Regions from separate parts of the Homo sapiens genome. Here all the other regions are linked to region 3. The links are contacts of gene promoters, found by promoter capture Hi-C in human tissues and cell types (Jung and others, 2019). All regions are on one chromosome and are shown on one strand. Each heading gives the region's core, a stretch centred on a gene start or on the middle of the fragment in contact. The rest is flanking DNA. Distances are from core to core; before and after follow the strand shown.

What was found. Contacts are between HindIII fragments. The study calls those that stand out against the background at their distance.
Region 1: a contact is called between a fragment that was not itself captured here and the fragment with the promoter of SYT4 in region 3, in 2 of the 25 tissues and cell types used here (aorta and spleen).
Region 2: a fragment that was not itself captured here is called in contact with the fragment with the promoter of SYT4 in region 3 in 2 of the 25 tissues and cell types used here (dorsolateral prefrontal cortex and spleen).

Annotation. Positions count from the first base shown.
Region 1 is chr18:43,219,672-43,224,652 of GRCh38, reverse strand. No RefSeq gene overlaps it. Among named protein-coding and RNA genes, the nearest start is that of SYT4, 55 kb to the left of the region's middle. The HindIII fragment of the contact is 3,401 bases long and covers 1,550-4,950 here.
Region 2 is chr18:43,235,846-43,240,849 of GRCh38, reverse strand. No RefSeq gene overlaps it. Among named protein-coding and RNA genes, the nearest start is that of SYT4, 39 kb to the left of the region's middle. The HindIII fragment of the contact is 4,002 bases long and covers 1,106-5,004 here.
Region 3 is chr18:43,274,601-43,279,096 of GRCh38, reverse strand. It overlaps SYT4 (synaptotagmin 4), which reads left to right and starts at 1,607. Exons shown (of 4, transcript NM_020783.4): 1 at 1,607-1,849. The coding sequence starts at 1,816. The HindIII fragment of the contact is 4,332 bases long and covers 1-3,551 here.

The DNA.
Region 1 (4,981 bases), core at 2,001-4,500, 56 kb after region 3:
ATGACAAAAGGAACAGTGAGCAGAATTAACAGACAACGCACAGAGTGGGAGAAAACCTTCACAATCTATACATCTGAAAAAGGATTAATATCCAGAATCTACAATTAACTCAAACAAATCAGTAAGAAAAATTTCTATCAAAAAGTGGGCTAAGGGCATGAACAGACAATTCTCAAAAGACGATATGCAAATGGCCAATAAACATATTAAAAAATGCTCAACATTACTAATGATCAGGGAAATGCAAATCAAATCCACAATGGGACATTACCTTACTCCTGCAAGAATGGCCATAATAAAAAAAATAAAAAAAAAAAAACAGTAGATGTTGGCATAGATGTGGTGAACAGGGAACACTTCTACACTGCTGGTGGGAATGTAAACTAGTACATCCTCTATGGAAAACAGTGTGGTGATTTATTAAAGGACTAAAAGAACTACCATTTGATCCAGCAATTGCTCTACTGGGTATCTACCCAGCAAAAATGAGTCATTATTCGAAAAAGATACTTTCACATGCATGTTCATAGCAGCACAATTCACAATTGCAAAATCATGGAACCAACCCAAATGCCCATCAATCAATCAGTGAATGAAGAAACTTTGGTACATATATATGATGGAATACTATGGAGCCATAAAAACGAACGAATTAACAGCATTTGCAGTGACCTGGATGAGATTGGAGACTGTTATTCTAAGTGAAGTAACTCAGGAATGGAAAACCAAACATTGTATGTTCTCACTGATATGTGGGAGCTAAGCTATGAGAACACAAAGGTATATGTATAATACAGTGGACTTTGGGGACTCAAGGGGAGGAGTGAGAGGAGGGTGAGGGATTAAAAGGCTACAAATGTGGTACAGTGTATACTGCTCAGGTGATATGTGCACCAACATCTCACAAATCAACACTAAGGAACTTATTCATGTAACCAAATATGACCTGTGCCTCAATAACTTATGGAAAAAATTTTTAAAAAGTCACTCACAAAAAAATAAATAAATATCCTTGCAGGAATGAACCATTCCTTACATACGTAAAATTCTTTAATGCCTAGTATTAATGGCTATCATTCATTGAATCTGTGTGTTACGGACTTAAAAAATCTCTAATCCCTATGCCATTGCTACAAAGAAGATATGATTCACCTTCTATATCCCTATTCCTGCTTTTTTTAAAACAAAATTTATAGAAAGTGCAATTAAGTAATTTATTCAAAATCTCACGGGTAATATGTGGTAGAACAGACTGAAAACTAAGTCTATAAGAGTTTAAATCCTACACCTTTTCCATTACATCACATTCATAGAATCTCATTTTATGTAACACAATTTTAGATTTCTGTGGTACACAGTGTATATTAACATTAAAGCTTACAGGTGATGAAAGGACTCTAAAAGGAAATAGAAGGCATAGTCAATTACACAAAATTTGCAATAATAATTTGATATTTTCCAAACCATTCTTTGAATATACAGTTATTTGTAGTAATTTCTTTTGTGGTACTTTATGTTAATACAAGTTATTATCTAATTGTTATACAAAAGGGTGATGAGTCACGAAAAATGAATAAGTAACATAATATCCATTACTTCAGTTCTAAAAAAGAGATGTTCAGGGTTATTAAATACAAATATATTATTTAACAATTAGTAATGATGGGGAACATCTGTTAATTGTTTATGTTGTGCTCATTACTACGTTAACCATGAAAAAAGCTTTATCACATTTAATTCTCACCTCATCTCTCATCATTAGGGAAACAAGGGTTTAGGGGATTTAAGTATCTTACCTGATGCTATGGTTTGAATGTGTCTCCAAAACTCCTATTAAAACTTAATCCCCATGTGCCAGTGTTGAGAGATGGGGCTTTTAATAGGTGATTGAATTGTGAGGGAGAGAGTTCATGAATGGATTACTCCATTTATGTATTAATGAATTAATGGCTCATGAATTAAGAAGAGAAAGGGAGACTTGAGCCAGCACATTAACATGCTCAGCTCCCTCCGCATGTGATATCCTATGACACATCAGCAGTCTTCAGAGGGTCTCCATTAGCAAGAAGGCTCTCGCTGGCAGCAGTGGCTCACAACTGTAATTCTAGTAGTTTGGGAGGCTGAGGTGAGAAGATCACTTGAGGCCATGAGTTCAAAACAAGTTTGGTCAACATACTGAGACTACGGTCTCTACAAAAAAATAAAAATAAAAAAATAAATAAAAAAGTTGGACATGCTGGTTGTGTATTCTTATAGCCCCAATTACTCAGGAGGCTGAGGTGGAAGGATCACTTGAACCTATGTGGTCAAAGCTGCACTGACCTATGATGACACGAATGATTATGCCACTTAACACAGCAAGATCCTGATTCTTTTTAAAAAATAGAAAAAGGCCAGGCGCGGTGGCTCACTCCTGTAATCCCAGCACTTTGGGAGGCCCAGGTGGGCGGATCACGAGGTCAGGAGATCGAGACCATCCTGGCTAACACAGTGAAACCCCGTCTCTACTAAAAATACAAAAAATTAGCCGGGCGCGGTGGTGGGTGCCTGTAGTCCCAGCTACTCGGGAGGCTGAGGCAGGAGAATGGCGTGAACCTGGGAGGCAGAGCTTGCAGTGAGCCGAGATAGCACCACTGCACTCCGGCCCGGGTGAAAGATCGAGACTCTGTCTCAAGAAAAATAAAAATAAAAAAATAAAAATAAAGAAAAGGCCAGGTGCGGTGGCTCACGCCTGTAATCCCAGCACTTTGGGAGGCTGAAGCAGGCGGATCATGGGGTCAGGAGATTGAGACCATCCTGGCTAATACGGTGAAACCCCATCTCTACTAAAAATACAAAAAATTAGCCGGGCGTGGTGGCAGGCGCCTCTAATCCCAGGTACTCAGGAGGCCGAGGCAGGGGAATCATTTGAACCAGGTAGGCGGAGGTTGCAGTGAGCCGAGATCGCATCACTGCGCTACTGTACTCCAGCCTGGGTGATAGAGTGAGATTCCGTCTCAAAATGAATAAATAAATAAATAGAGACCAGGTGCGTTGCCTGGCGCCTATAATTCCAGCACTTTGGGGTGCCAAGGTGGGAGGATCGTTTGAACCAAGGAATTTGAGACCAGCCTGGGGAACATAGTGAGACCCTGTCTCTACAAAAATAAATAAATAAATAAAAACTAGCCAGGCATGGTGGCTCATGCCTGTAGTCCCAGCTACTTGGGAAGCTGAGTCAGGAGAATCACTTGAGTCCAGGAGGTCAAGTCTGCAGAGAGCTGTGTTCGTAGTACTGCACTCCAGCCTGGGCAACAGAGCCAGGCTTTGTCTTTAAGAAAAAGAAAAAAAAAAAAACAACAATGCTCTCACCAGATGGAGTTCTTAAACCCTGAACTTCCCAGCCTCTGTAACTGTAAGAAATAAGTTCATTTTCTTTGTAAATTGCCATTTTAGGTATTCTATTATAAGCAACAGAAAACAGACTAAGACAGAAAATTGGTACTGAGAAGTGAGGTGTTGCTGTTAACAGTTATGTAAAAATGTGGAATTGGTTTGCGAATGGGGCATTGGGCAGCTGCTGAAAAAAATTGGAGGAGCAGACTAGAAAAAGCTTAGATTCTGGTTAGATGTTAGAATACAAGAAGACTAGGGAAATTTCAGAATCCTTACAAATTGGTTAAAGTTTCAGAACCAGAAAGCTGATAGAAATACAGGGAGTAAAGTCCATTCTGATCAAGTTTTAGATAGAGCTGAGGAAAAAGGTATTGGGAACTGGAATAAAGCCCATCTTTGTTACAAATTGGCAAATAACTTGACTGAACTGTGTCCATGCTTGAGGGCTTTGTAGAAGGCTTAATTTGAGAGTGATGGTCTAGGGTATCTGGCAGAAGAAATTTCTAAGCAAAATATAGAAAGAGGTGCATGATTACTTTCAGCTATTTAAACTAAGATTTGGGGAGCAAAGAAATAATGTAAATACAGAATTTATAATTAAAAAGGAAGCAGAGTAGAAACATTTGGAAAATTCTCAGCCTGGCCACACAGAGAGTCAAAAAATGTGCTCAGAAGTATAAATCAAAGGTGTAGTTTTGCTAAAGATATTAGCACTAATAGAAGGGAGCCAGGTGCTAACTTTCAAGACAGTGGGGAAAAAAAGGCCCTGAAAGCATTTCAGAGATCTTTGAGGCTTTTCCTTCCATTACAGGCACAGAAGCCTAGGAGTGCAGAATGATTTCAGGCGACAGGCCCAGAGTGCTCTTTATGAGCTTGCTACCAAGGACTCCTTCGGGACTCTCTTCCCTACATCTGGGCACAGCACTTTGGGGCCACACTAGCCAAGACCCTAGTGGCCCCAAGTGTGGTTCATGCAGCAGCTCCAGACAGTACAAGTCAGAAACCTTAATTTGTCCATGTGGTGCTGATTCTTCAAGCTTACAGAAAGTAAGAGCTATAAAAGCTTGGAAGCCTCCAACCAGATTTCAAATGATGTTGTCAAAAGCCTGAGAGCTCAGACAGAAACTCGTCATGGGGCGGAGCCACTGCAGACAGCCCTCACTAGAGCAATGCCCAGTGGAAATGTGGGGTTGCAACTGCTAAAAAGAGTCCCCACCAGGGCAATGTTTACTGAAACCATGAGAGCAAGATCACCACCCGGTCCCCATTGGGTAATGCCTGGGGGAGCTGTGGAAGCAGGACTGCCGCTGAGCCCCCAGAACTTCAGAACTATCAGAGTGCAATGACAGCCTGGGAGAGCTGGGTGAACCAAGCCCAACAAAGCCATAGTTGCAGGGTTGCCTGAGGTCTCAGGGCCCAACCCCTACACCAGTGTACAAAAGAATTATTGGATGTGGAGTCAAGGGAGAATATTCTGGAGCTTTAAGACTCAATGCCTGATAAGTTGGGCTTCATACTTGCTTGGAGTTTGTTACTCCTTTCTTCTTGACTACTATTTCTCCCTTTTCAAATGGGAATGTGTACCCTATGCTTTTCTAACCGTTGT
Region 2 (5,004 bases), core at 1,857-4,356, 40 kb after region 3:
TTTTATATTTTTCCTACCTGGGACTTAGAATAAACCACTTTTACAAGGAGTTGTTAAATTTTTTAAGAAACTAGCATCTGGATGCTGGACATACTCACTGCTGCTGTGATATTGCAGCTTCTAGACACTTTTTATTGAAACACACATTATATAGAGAGATACTTTTTATCAAATTATAACAAAATGTACTTTCCCTTTGGTTTCATAATAACATGAATATATTTATTTATGTGGTTCATTCTGCAATATACACAAAATAGTTTCACAATTCAAATTTCATTAATATTATTAACCATAAAGCTCAGGAAAGTTTAAAATTACTTTGCCACATTTGATGAAAATTACTTTGAATTTCTGAAGGTATTCTTCCAAGGACTGCTGAAAAGTCACTTCAAGTGATTTTATCATTAATATTTTATATATATATATACACACACAGACATATATACACACACACACGGACATACACACATACATATACATACATATAAGTCTATATAGGTTAATTTATTTCTCTTATTTAATATTAAGCTTTGTTTCATTCCTTTTCTATTTTTGAATATGTAAAATACTTACATAATTAAAATTCAAAACTAAATTTAAAAGGCATAGGCAGAGAAGTCTTGCTTCCATTCCTATTTCCTCCCTTCCAACTACACTTTACTAGAGAATATAATCCAACATCATTTACCATATGAAAAAACATGAAAACATGACCCATTTTCAAGAGAAAGACAACCAAGGCCTGAGTTAAGATGACCAACATGTTAGAATTAGCAGATAAGGGTTTTAAGTTAGCTATTAAAACTATGCTCAAGGATGAAAGAAAAATATGTTGATGAAGAAAAAGAAGAAATTCTAGCAGCAGAATAGGAATTATTTTAGAACTGAAAAGTACAATAACTGAAAATAACATTCTTGGGATCTAAAGTTTAGCATGAGTGGTAATGGATATATTAATTAATTTGATTGTGGTAATCCTTACACAATATATACAAATATAAAATTATCACACTGTACACTTTGAATATAGTCAATCATTGACAAATTAATGAATTGGATGAGTGTTACATAAGAATGGAGATGCAAAAGGTAAGTTTCATCAAATTTTGAAGATAGATCAATAAAACCTATCCTAACTGAAGAACAGAGAGAAAAATAATTAGTCAATGGAGCAAGCTGTCCTGAATCACAAAAAGTGAAAATCTCTCATACTAAAAAGAATTGATACCATATTGGTCTGATGAGAGCTAATTCAACCAAAATAACCACAATGAACAGTCTAGGTAGCCACCAGATAGAAAGAGAGCACCCTTCTCTGCAAATGGACAAATAGAAAAACATGGATCACCTACATTTTAAGATAGCATGTGTAGTTTTTTACCCCTTTCCCAAGGGAATGTGTGTGTGTGTGTGTGTGTGTGTGTGTGTGCATGTGTGTCTGTGTGTCTGTATGTATGTGTGTATATATGTCAATAGGAAAGTTTAGCCTAGATAGATGAGGTACATTTAGATTGGGTACCATGTTATTTTGCTGAATAATCCTATAATAACTACAAGTTATTTGAAAAGGCTCCTTCTCATTATTTTTTATTTATTATCTTAAAACCAGTGGAATGAATTTAATGAGACTTTCTCAAGGTTCTTTTCCCCTTAGAGCTTTGACAGTATGCAATAAGCTTTTTGTTGCTGTTGTTTTGAGGCTGTCCCTGTTATGGAAAATTGCTAATCACAACGAGTATATTTGAGATAAATCTAGGTTCCTTCTATCCAAAATGTCAACCCAATTTACATGTCAGTCATTAGCATTGGAAATAAAGTTTACCTCAATATCTTGCAAATGAGAAGAGTAGAACAGTGAAAGTCTTAATAAGATATTTATGAAACACCAAGGTTTCTAAAGCAATATCATAAATTAAAATAAAAATGAGAAGGGTGGGGCAAAATGCAGAATAGAAGACTACGCCATTTGTTCCCCGCCACCCCCACAGGAATATCAAATTTTAACAACTATCTGCACTCAAAAAATACCACAAGAACCAAAAATTAGGTGAGTAATCACAGTATCTGGTTTTATCTTCATATTGTTAACAGAGGAATTGAATAGGGTCAGAGAGACAGACTTGAATCACCAATGTCATGCCTCCCTTATTCCCTGGCAGTAGCCTTGTGGTGTGGAAATTCTCTGCACTTTGGAGAGGGGCAACACAGTGACTGGAGGACTTTGTACTGAATTTGGCACTGCCTTGTCGTAGCAGAGAGCAAAGTCGTGTAGGGCTCAGCCAATACCCATGTGTGAAAGGAGTATTTGAATAAGCCCTAGCCAGAGGGGAATCACCCCTCCTAGTAGTTGAAAATTGGGTTTCTCAGCAAGCCTTGCTACCACAGACCAAAGTGCTCTGGGATCCTAGGTAAACTTTAAAACACAAGCATAGCAATTTTTAAGCAAGTCCTAGGGCAGAACTGGGCTCAGAGACAGGGGACTAGTGTGGCACATGACCTAAGGAGACACGAGCCAGAGCAGCTAAGGAAGGGCTTGTGCCACCCCTACCCAAACCCCAGGCTGCACAGTTTGCAGCAATGAAAGTAACCCCTTTCTTCTGCTTAAGGAGAGGAGATCAAAGAGTAAAGAGAACTATACCAGCTCAGCCACAGTAGGATACGGCACTGGGTAGAGTTGTGAGGTCCCCATTCTAAGCCCCAGCTCATGGATGACATTTCTAGATACCCTGGGCCAAAAGAGAACCTGCTGCCTTGAAAGAAAGTCTAGAAGGACTCATCTCTCACTGACTAAAGAGCGCTTGGACCCAGAATAACCAGCAACAACACCCAGGTAGAACCCATGGGTATGCCATGGGCTTTGGGCTCTGAGACATGCTGACATCAGGTGTGACTCCAACACTGTTGCTGTGGTGGTTACAGTGAAAGACTCCTTCTGTTTTAGAAAAGCAGAGGAAAAATTAAAAGTAAAGGGAACTTTGTCCTTCACCTTAGCTACCAGCTTGACCACAGTGGAGTAGAGCAACAAGCCAGCTCTTGGGGACCCTGAGTGTAGGACTTGGATCTTTAACAACATTTCTAGGCTGCTCTGGGCCAGAGGGGATGTCATTTCCCTGAAGGTTGAGTCCCAGGCCTGGCAGTATTCATCACAAGCTGACTAAAGAGCCCTTGGGCTTTAAGTGAACATCAGGGGTGGTCTGGCAGAATGCCTATGAGCCAGTGGTGATGATACCCATAGGGAGAGGCTCCTCTGCCTGTGGAAAAGGAGAGAAGAGTGGGAATAACTTTGTATTGTGGTTTGAGTGCCAGGTTACCCACAGTAGAATAGAACATAAGGCAAATTTCTAAGGTTTTTGACTGTAATCCCTGGATCCCAGGAGTATCTCTGGACCTACCCATGGCCTGGGGCAACTTGCTGCCCTGAAGAGGATACAAACCTGGCTGGCTTCATCACCTGCTGATTGCAGTGCCCTATGGCCTTGAGTGAACATAGGCAGTAGCCAAGTATTGGTTGCAGTGAGCCTTAAGTGAGACCCTTGTGCTGGCTCCAGGTCTCATCCAGCACAGTCCCAGCTGTGGTAGCCACAGGGATGTTTGCATCACCACACCCCTAGTTCCAGGTTGCTCAGCACAGAGAGCGAGATTATATTTGCTTGGGAGAAAGAGGAAAGAACAAGAGTCTCTGTTGGGTAATCCAGGGAATTCCTCTAGATCTTATCTAAGATCACCAAGGGAGTGCCTCTATGAGTCTGCAAAAACAACAATGCTATTGGGTTGAATAGCCGTTGAATGCCTAGAATGCCTCCTCAAGAAGAACTGACACATACAAGCTCAGACTGCAAAGACTACAATAAATACTCTCCAATGTCCAGAAGTAGATAAACATCTATAAGCAAGCATCAAGTCAAGAAAAACATGACCATGACAAATGACCTGAATAAGGCAGTATAGACCAATCCTGGAGAAACAAGGATATGTGACCTTTCAAACAGAGAGTTCAAAATAGCTATGTTGAGGAAACTCCATGAAATTCAAGATAACAGAGAAGAAATTTAAAATCCTATCAAATAAACTTTAAAAAGAAATTGAAATAATAAAAAAGAATTAAGTAGATATTCTATAGTTTATAAATGCAATGGACATACCGAAAAATGCACCAGAGTCTCTTAATAGCAGAATTTATCAAGCAGAAGAAACAATGAACTTGAAGACAAGCTATTTAAAAATACACAGTAAAAGGAGACAAAATAATTTGAAAAAATAAAAACAATGAAACACATCTACAAGATTTAGAAAATAGCCTCGACAGGGCAACTCTAAGAGATTTTGGCCATAAAGAGGATTTAGAGAAAGAGATGGGGTAGAAAGTTTATTCAAAGGGATAACAACAGCAAGCTTCCCAAATGTAAAGAAAGATATTAACAGTCTAGGACAAGAGGTTATAGAACACAAAGTAGATTTAACCCAAAGAAGCATACTTCAGAGTATCTAATAAGCAAAATCTCAAAGGTCAATAATAAAGGATCCTAAAAGAAGCAAGAGAAAAGAAACGAGTAACACACAATGGAGCTCCAATATATCTGTTAGCAAACTTTTCAGTGGAAACCTTACAGGCCAGGAGAGAGTGGCGTGAGGTATTTAAAATGCTAAATAAAAAAACTTTTACCATAGAATAGTATATCCAGTGAAAACATCCTTCAAACATGAAGAAGAAATAAAGACCTTCCCAGACAAACAGAAGCTGAAGGATTTCATTGACATTAGACCTGTCCTACAAGAAGGGTTAAAGGAAGTTCTTCAAACTGAAAGAAAAAGATTTTAATGAGCAAGAAGACATCATGCAAAGGTACAAATCTCACTGGTAATAGTAAGTATACAAAAAAACACAGAATATTGTAACACAGTAATTGTGGTGTGTAAACTACTCTTATTAATACTTTCAGTAGAAATACTAAACAATGAACCAAAAATAATATTTATAATTTTCAAGACGTAGTACAATAA
Region 3 (4,496 bases), core at 358-2,857:
AAATTAATGAGATACTAATTTATAGAACAAACACATAAGGTATTTATGTTTACAACAAATGAGCTTAAACATATGTTAGCAATAACTTAGCTAGAAAATATATACTTTAGTAAACATCACACCATGTATTTGGTCCACCTATGATATGCATCACAAATAAATGCCACTTATTCTTTAACCTAATGGATATTTGTTTCTAGGGACAACCCTACAGGGTGCATGCATGCATAATTAAGGAAATAGGTAATCTGAATAAAGTGAAATGATAAAGACACAACCACAGACTCTGCCAGCAGAAAAATTAAATACAGCAAATTAGTTTGTGTGTTTTCAAAGCATGAAGATATAAAGTTTAAAAAAATCTGTTAGAGGAACACTCCAATGCCAAGTATGTGGGAGCAAATAGAATAGCAAAGAAAAAAGACTGGTTTATAAAATTTTCCATGATGCAAAGAACTGAAGCCAATTTCTCCCCAGACAGAGCCCTGATGCTCTGGGCTGCTGCTAGCCAATGTGCAGGGACCTGTCACTTGCACAGTAGCTTTCTGAGACTCACCCTGTATCCCTTCTCCCACATCCCAGCACACACTGAATGCCATTTCCTTATTAACTCCAGAGCAAAGAAATTCTTTGCAGAGCAATAATTGACAGTTGGAGTTACAGCTTGACTTCTTTCCTTTGAAAAATTGCTAAGCATTTGTTTTAGAAAGGCACACTCTTCAGATTCCAATGAATCAGAATCCGACACCATATTTTTCACAGTTTTTCACCTCCGAGAATATCATCAGTTTAGAAAAAGGAATGCTTTCCTTTGAAATAACCAATGTTACCAATGTTACTTTAGATGTTGGCCTGATTTTGGAAACTATTTTGTACAAACGTACTAGAAGTCAGGCCTTTTAACCATAAATGTCATTTCAGAAGCGCCTTATTATTTGCAAAAGTCATAACTGAGAGTGACTCTGAATATCCAAGGAATTATCCCCATCTGTTCCTAAGTGCTTTAACTGGTCAAATGTCAGATATTAAAGGGAAGAGAGCTGAGAGACCAGGAAAGATCAACTGTTCCAGCAAAATATTTAGACTAATAATTTATTAGAACATAAAGGATTATACTGGGAAAACTATCTTATATCAAATGCATCAATTTGTAGTGAATCTTTTCTAAATGTAATAAGTATCATAGGTATAACATGTCAAAGAAAAAAATTAAAAAGCAAGAAAACATGTTTTTGCATGTTAAAAAGAGTAATTTGAAGCAGAAACTTCTCCTCTGTAAGTTACGTTATTCTGAAAACTCAGAAACATATTTTTATTCATCTAGGTGATCAGGAGATTTTATATTAGGAACTGACAGGGATCAGTTTCGGGGCTTATCTCGGTGAGCCTCTGAGCCCCCACAAAACAGCAAAGCTAATCTCTAGTGGTCCAACAGTTAAAATAATTGATGAGCATGTGTTGAATCCTCAAGAGAGGAGGGAGGAAGCAAGAAGGAAAGCTTGAAGGGAGGAGGGGAGGGGGGCAGGTGCTGATTTCAGCCCTGTAGCGTCAGGATTGCGTCAATTCGGGTTCCAGCCACGTCTGGAGTCTCGGAGACGAGCTTCTCAGAAGAGCCAAAACAGGAACCGAGGTGGCAAATCACTGTGCGAGGGCGAGTGGACCTCCCTCTTTGCCTCCTCCCTGTTCCAGGAGCTGGTGCCCTGGGCTCTGCGCTGTTGTTTTCAGCGCTCCGAAAGCCGGCGCTTGAGATCCAGGCAAGTGAATCCAGCCAGGCAGTTTTCCCTTCAGCACCTCGGACAGAACACGCAGTAAAAAATGGCTCCGATCACCACCAGCCGGGAAGAATTTGGTAAGCAAGTTACTGAACTTATGACTGCGGTTATTCCTTGAATACTCTGGGGTGGACTGTTTATTCATTTATTTTTTGCCCGGTTGTTGAATACAGATTTCCTAGGTAGTTAATTTAAAAGGAAAATGAGAATGGCAGTCAGGCAATTGTGGCTTATTTCTGCAGCTTCTCTCCCTTCCTTGGTATCTCTCTCCCTGAAACTGTCTTCTGTTAGGGAGAATTTACCTTCAGGAAGTTCTTAAATTTTCAGGTACTTCTGTAAATTGCAGCATGTACTGAGTAAAGAAAAAGGGGTCTGTTTTTCCCATGTTGGTTTCATCTATTTTGTAGGTGATTCTTATTTGTAGGTAAATCTATATTTTATTAGGAGAAGATAAATATATCTCTGGTTACATTGGGGTTTGATCTTGGTTAAAAAAAGCAACTTGTCTATTGGGGTTTGGCAATGTATATTTTATTACAGGGCGTACCATATGGGTGTTTTTCTCTGCTATGTTTTTCTTGTATCCTTGAAATATGTTGCTAGTGAAAGACAGAATCATATGGTAGCAGGGTTAAAGAGAGTTTCAAAATGAACTGGCTCAGCCCATTTCATTTCACTGCTGAGCTAACCAAAGCCCAGAGAGATGAGGGAAGTATTATAGGTTGCACAATTAGCTAAAAGCTGCTGGAAACTTGAATTAGGGCTCCAATTTTCCCGTTCAGTTTTCCTTTTCTCACACCAAGTTTTTGGTTTCAGTACATAAAATTAGACGTACTTCATAGAGTAAAAAAGTACTATTTTTAGATCTCAGTATATTCCAAAGGAAAAAGGTCAGAATTTTACTTACACGTATTTTTTAAATCATGAAATTTCATAGAAGGTTGTGAAGAGGAGTGATATCTACAGATGTGTGATAATTGTTATTAAGCTGAGTAAAATAACTATGATCTTGACTTTCAAGATTGTAAGACCTTATCAGTAGAGAATACATAGGGAGTAGATAAGTGTTTCCACGTTATAGAAAATGTTTGCCATTTGACATAACTATTCAATAGGGACAATTTGTGATATTATGTTCATAAATGAATTTCTTTCCCAGCCTTCCATTTGGGTTATTGGGTTTATTTTGGTATGACATTTATTCCCAATTCTTCATTTGAAACCTGAATGATTTTCTAATATGGAGGAATTTTTAGAGACTGTGCCAGTGAAAATATGTTCTAGCATGGACTATCAGTCTACTTTTAAAAAATGATTTTCTACTGTTTTTATTGTTTTTACATTGGCTAAAGAACTCTCTCAGTTCATGACTTTGCTTTTGCTCCCTGGCCTTGGGTTATTATGGTCCAGGAATGTGGGTGCATTTTTTTTTCACAAAGACTTGAATAGAAGGAAAAACTGAAAAGCTGATACCAAGTTTAGCTGATTATCTTTAGCTCTTGCTTTATACTGTAGTAGTCACTGTTTCTTTTTTCCACCTGGAGAAGTCAAAGGTTTATTTCATCTTTACATGATTCAGTTTCTGTACATTAAAATACAGGATTTTTATTGCGATTTTATTGGCCTTTTTATCTTCTATTTCATTTGTCTTTTCTTAACCTTACATTCTCTGAGTTCAGTTTTATAATTGTGAAGTAGATTGGCAGAAGATTTGGGGGGATGGGGAAGGGAAGTAACAAAAGACTGGATTTCTTGTGGTTATTTAGAAAAGTTTTAACCCTTTCTGGGCTGGAACTTATAACTTTATTATTTACTATTCAGGATAAAAGCATATTGCAATGGAACTAAATGTATATAATATTACATTAGTTATTTTCACTTTGATGATATTAAGCATTGACTCTATGGATTCACTATGTATAGATGTAGTAATACTGCTTTTACTTCCATAGTGTTACTAACCATTTGTTCAAGAAAGATGCTTACATATAAAATAGGATAAGCCTTATGCATAATTGATATTACCTAATGTCAGTAATTTAATGTGCCATCATTCAAGAAAATAATGACAATTTCAGTTTGATTATCATTTGCCATGCCATGTGCTAGAGGAAGAGACAGTTATAGATAAAATTGAACTCTAAATCTCACTGTTCTCATTACATGTTAAAGAATGCTGATTCACTTATAACCATTGTTCTGTTTTTATCTTATTTAAGTTTAATTAATTTATACTTTGTATAATTCAGTGTTTGACTGAGAAATTTGGGATTGTCATACAAAGGGATGATAGTGTTATAAGTTACAAAATATCGGTACCTTGTTGCTCTTCTGTTTTTGTTTTACTTTCTCTAATATATGTATATTTCTTTTACCACTGTTCCATAATTGGGATGAAAATTATTAATGAGTTTGTGGCAATGGCAAATATCATTTCACAATCAATTTCCTACAATTGAGTGAACCACTGAGTCCCTAAATGTTTGCTGCTTGAATTCTGAGTAAAGAACTACTTAGAATTCCAGTAAAAAGTGATGCTCTGGAAAGCCTCAAAATGACAATAAAAAATAATGAAGTTAGTACTGATCCATCATATTGTAGCTGTCTCATGTTATCTGAGAAAACAAAGATAGGTCAGAGTCATTAAGCATTCCCCCATATCTGATTCAGGACCATTTTCATCTTTTTATTTCATTAATGAAAAACCACTGAAATGAAGGAATT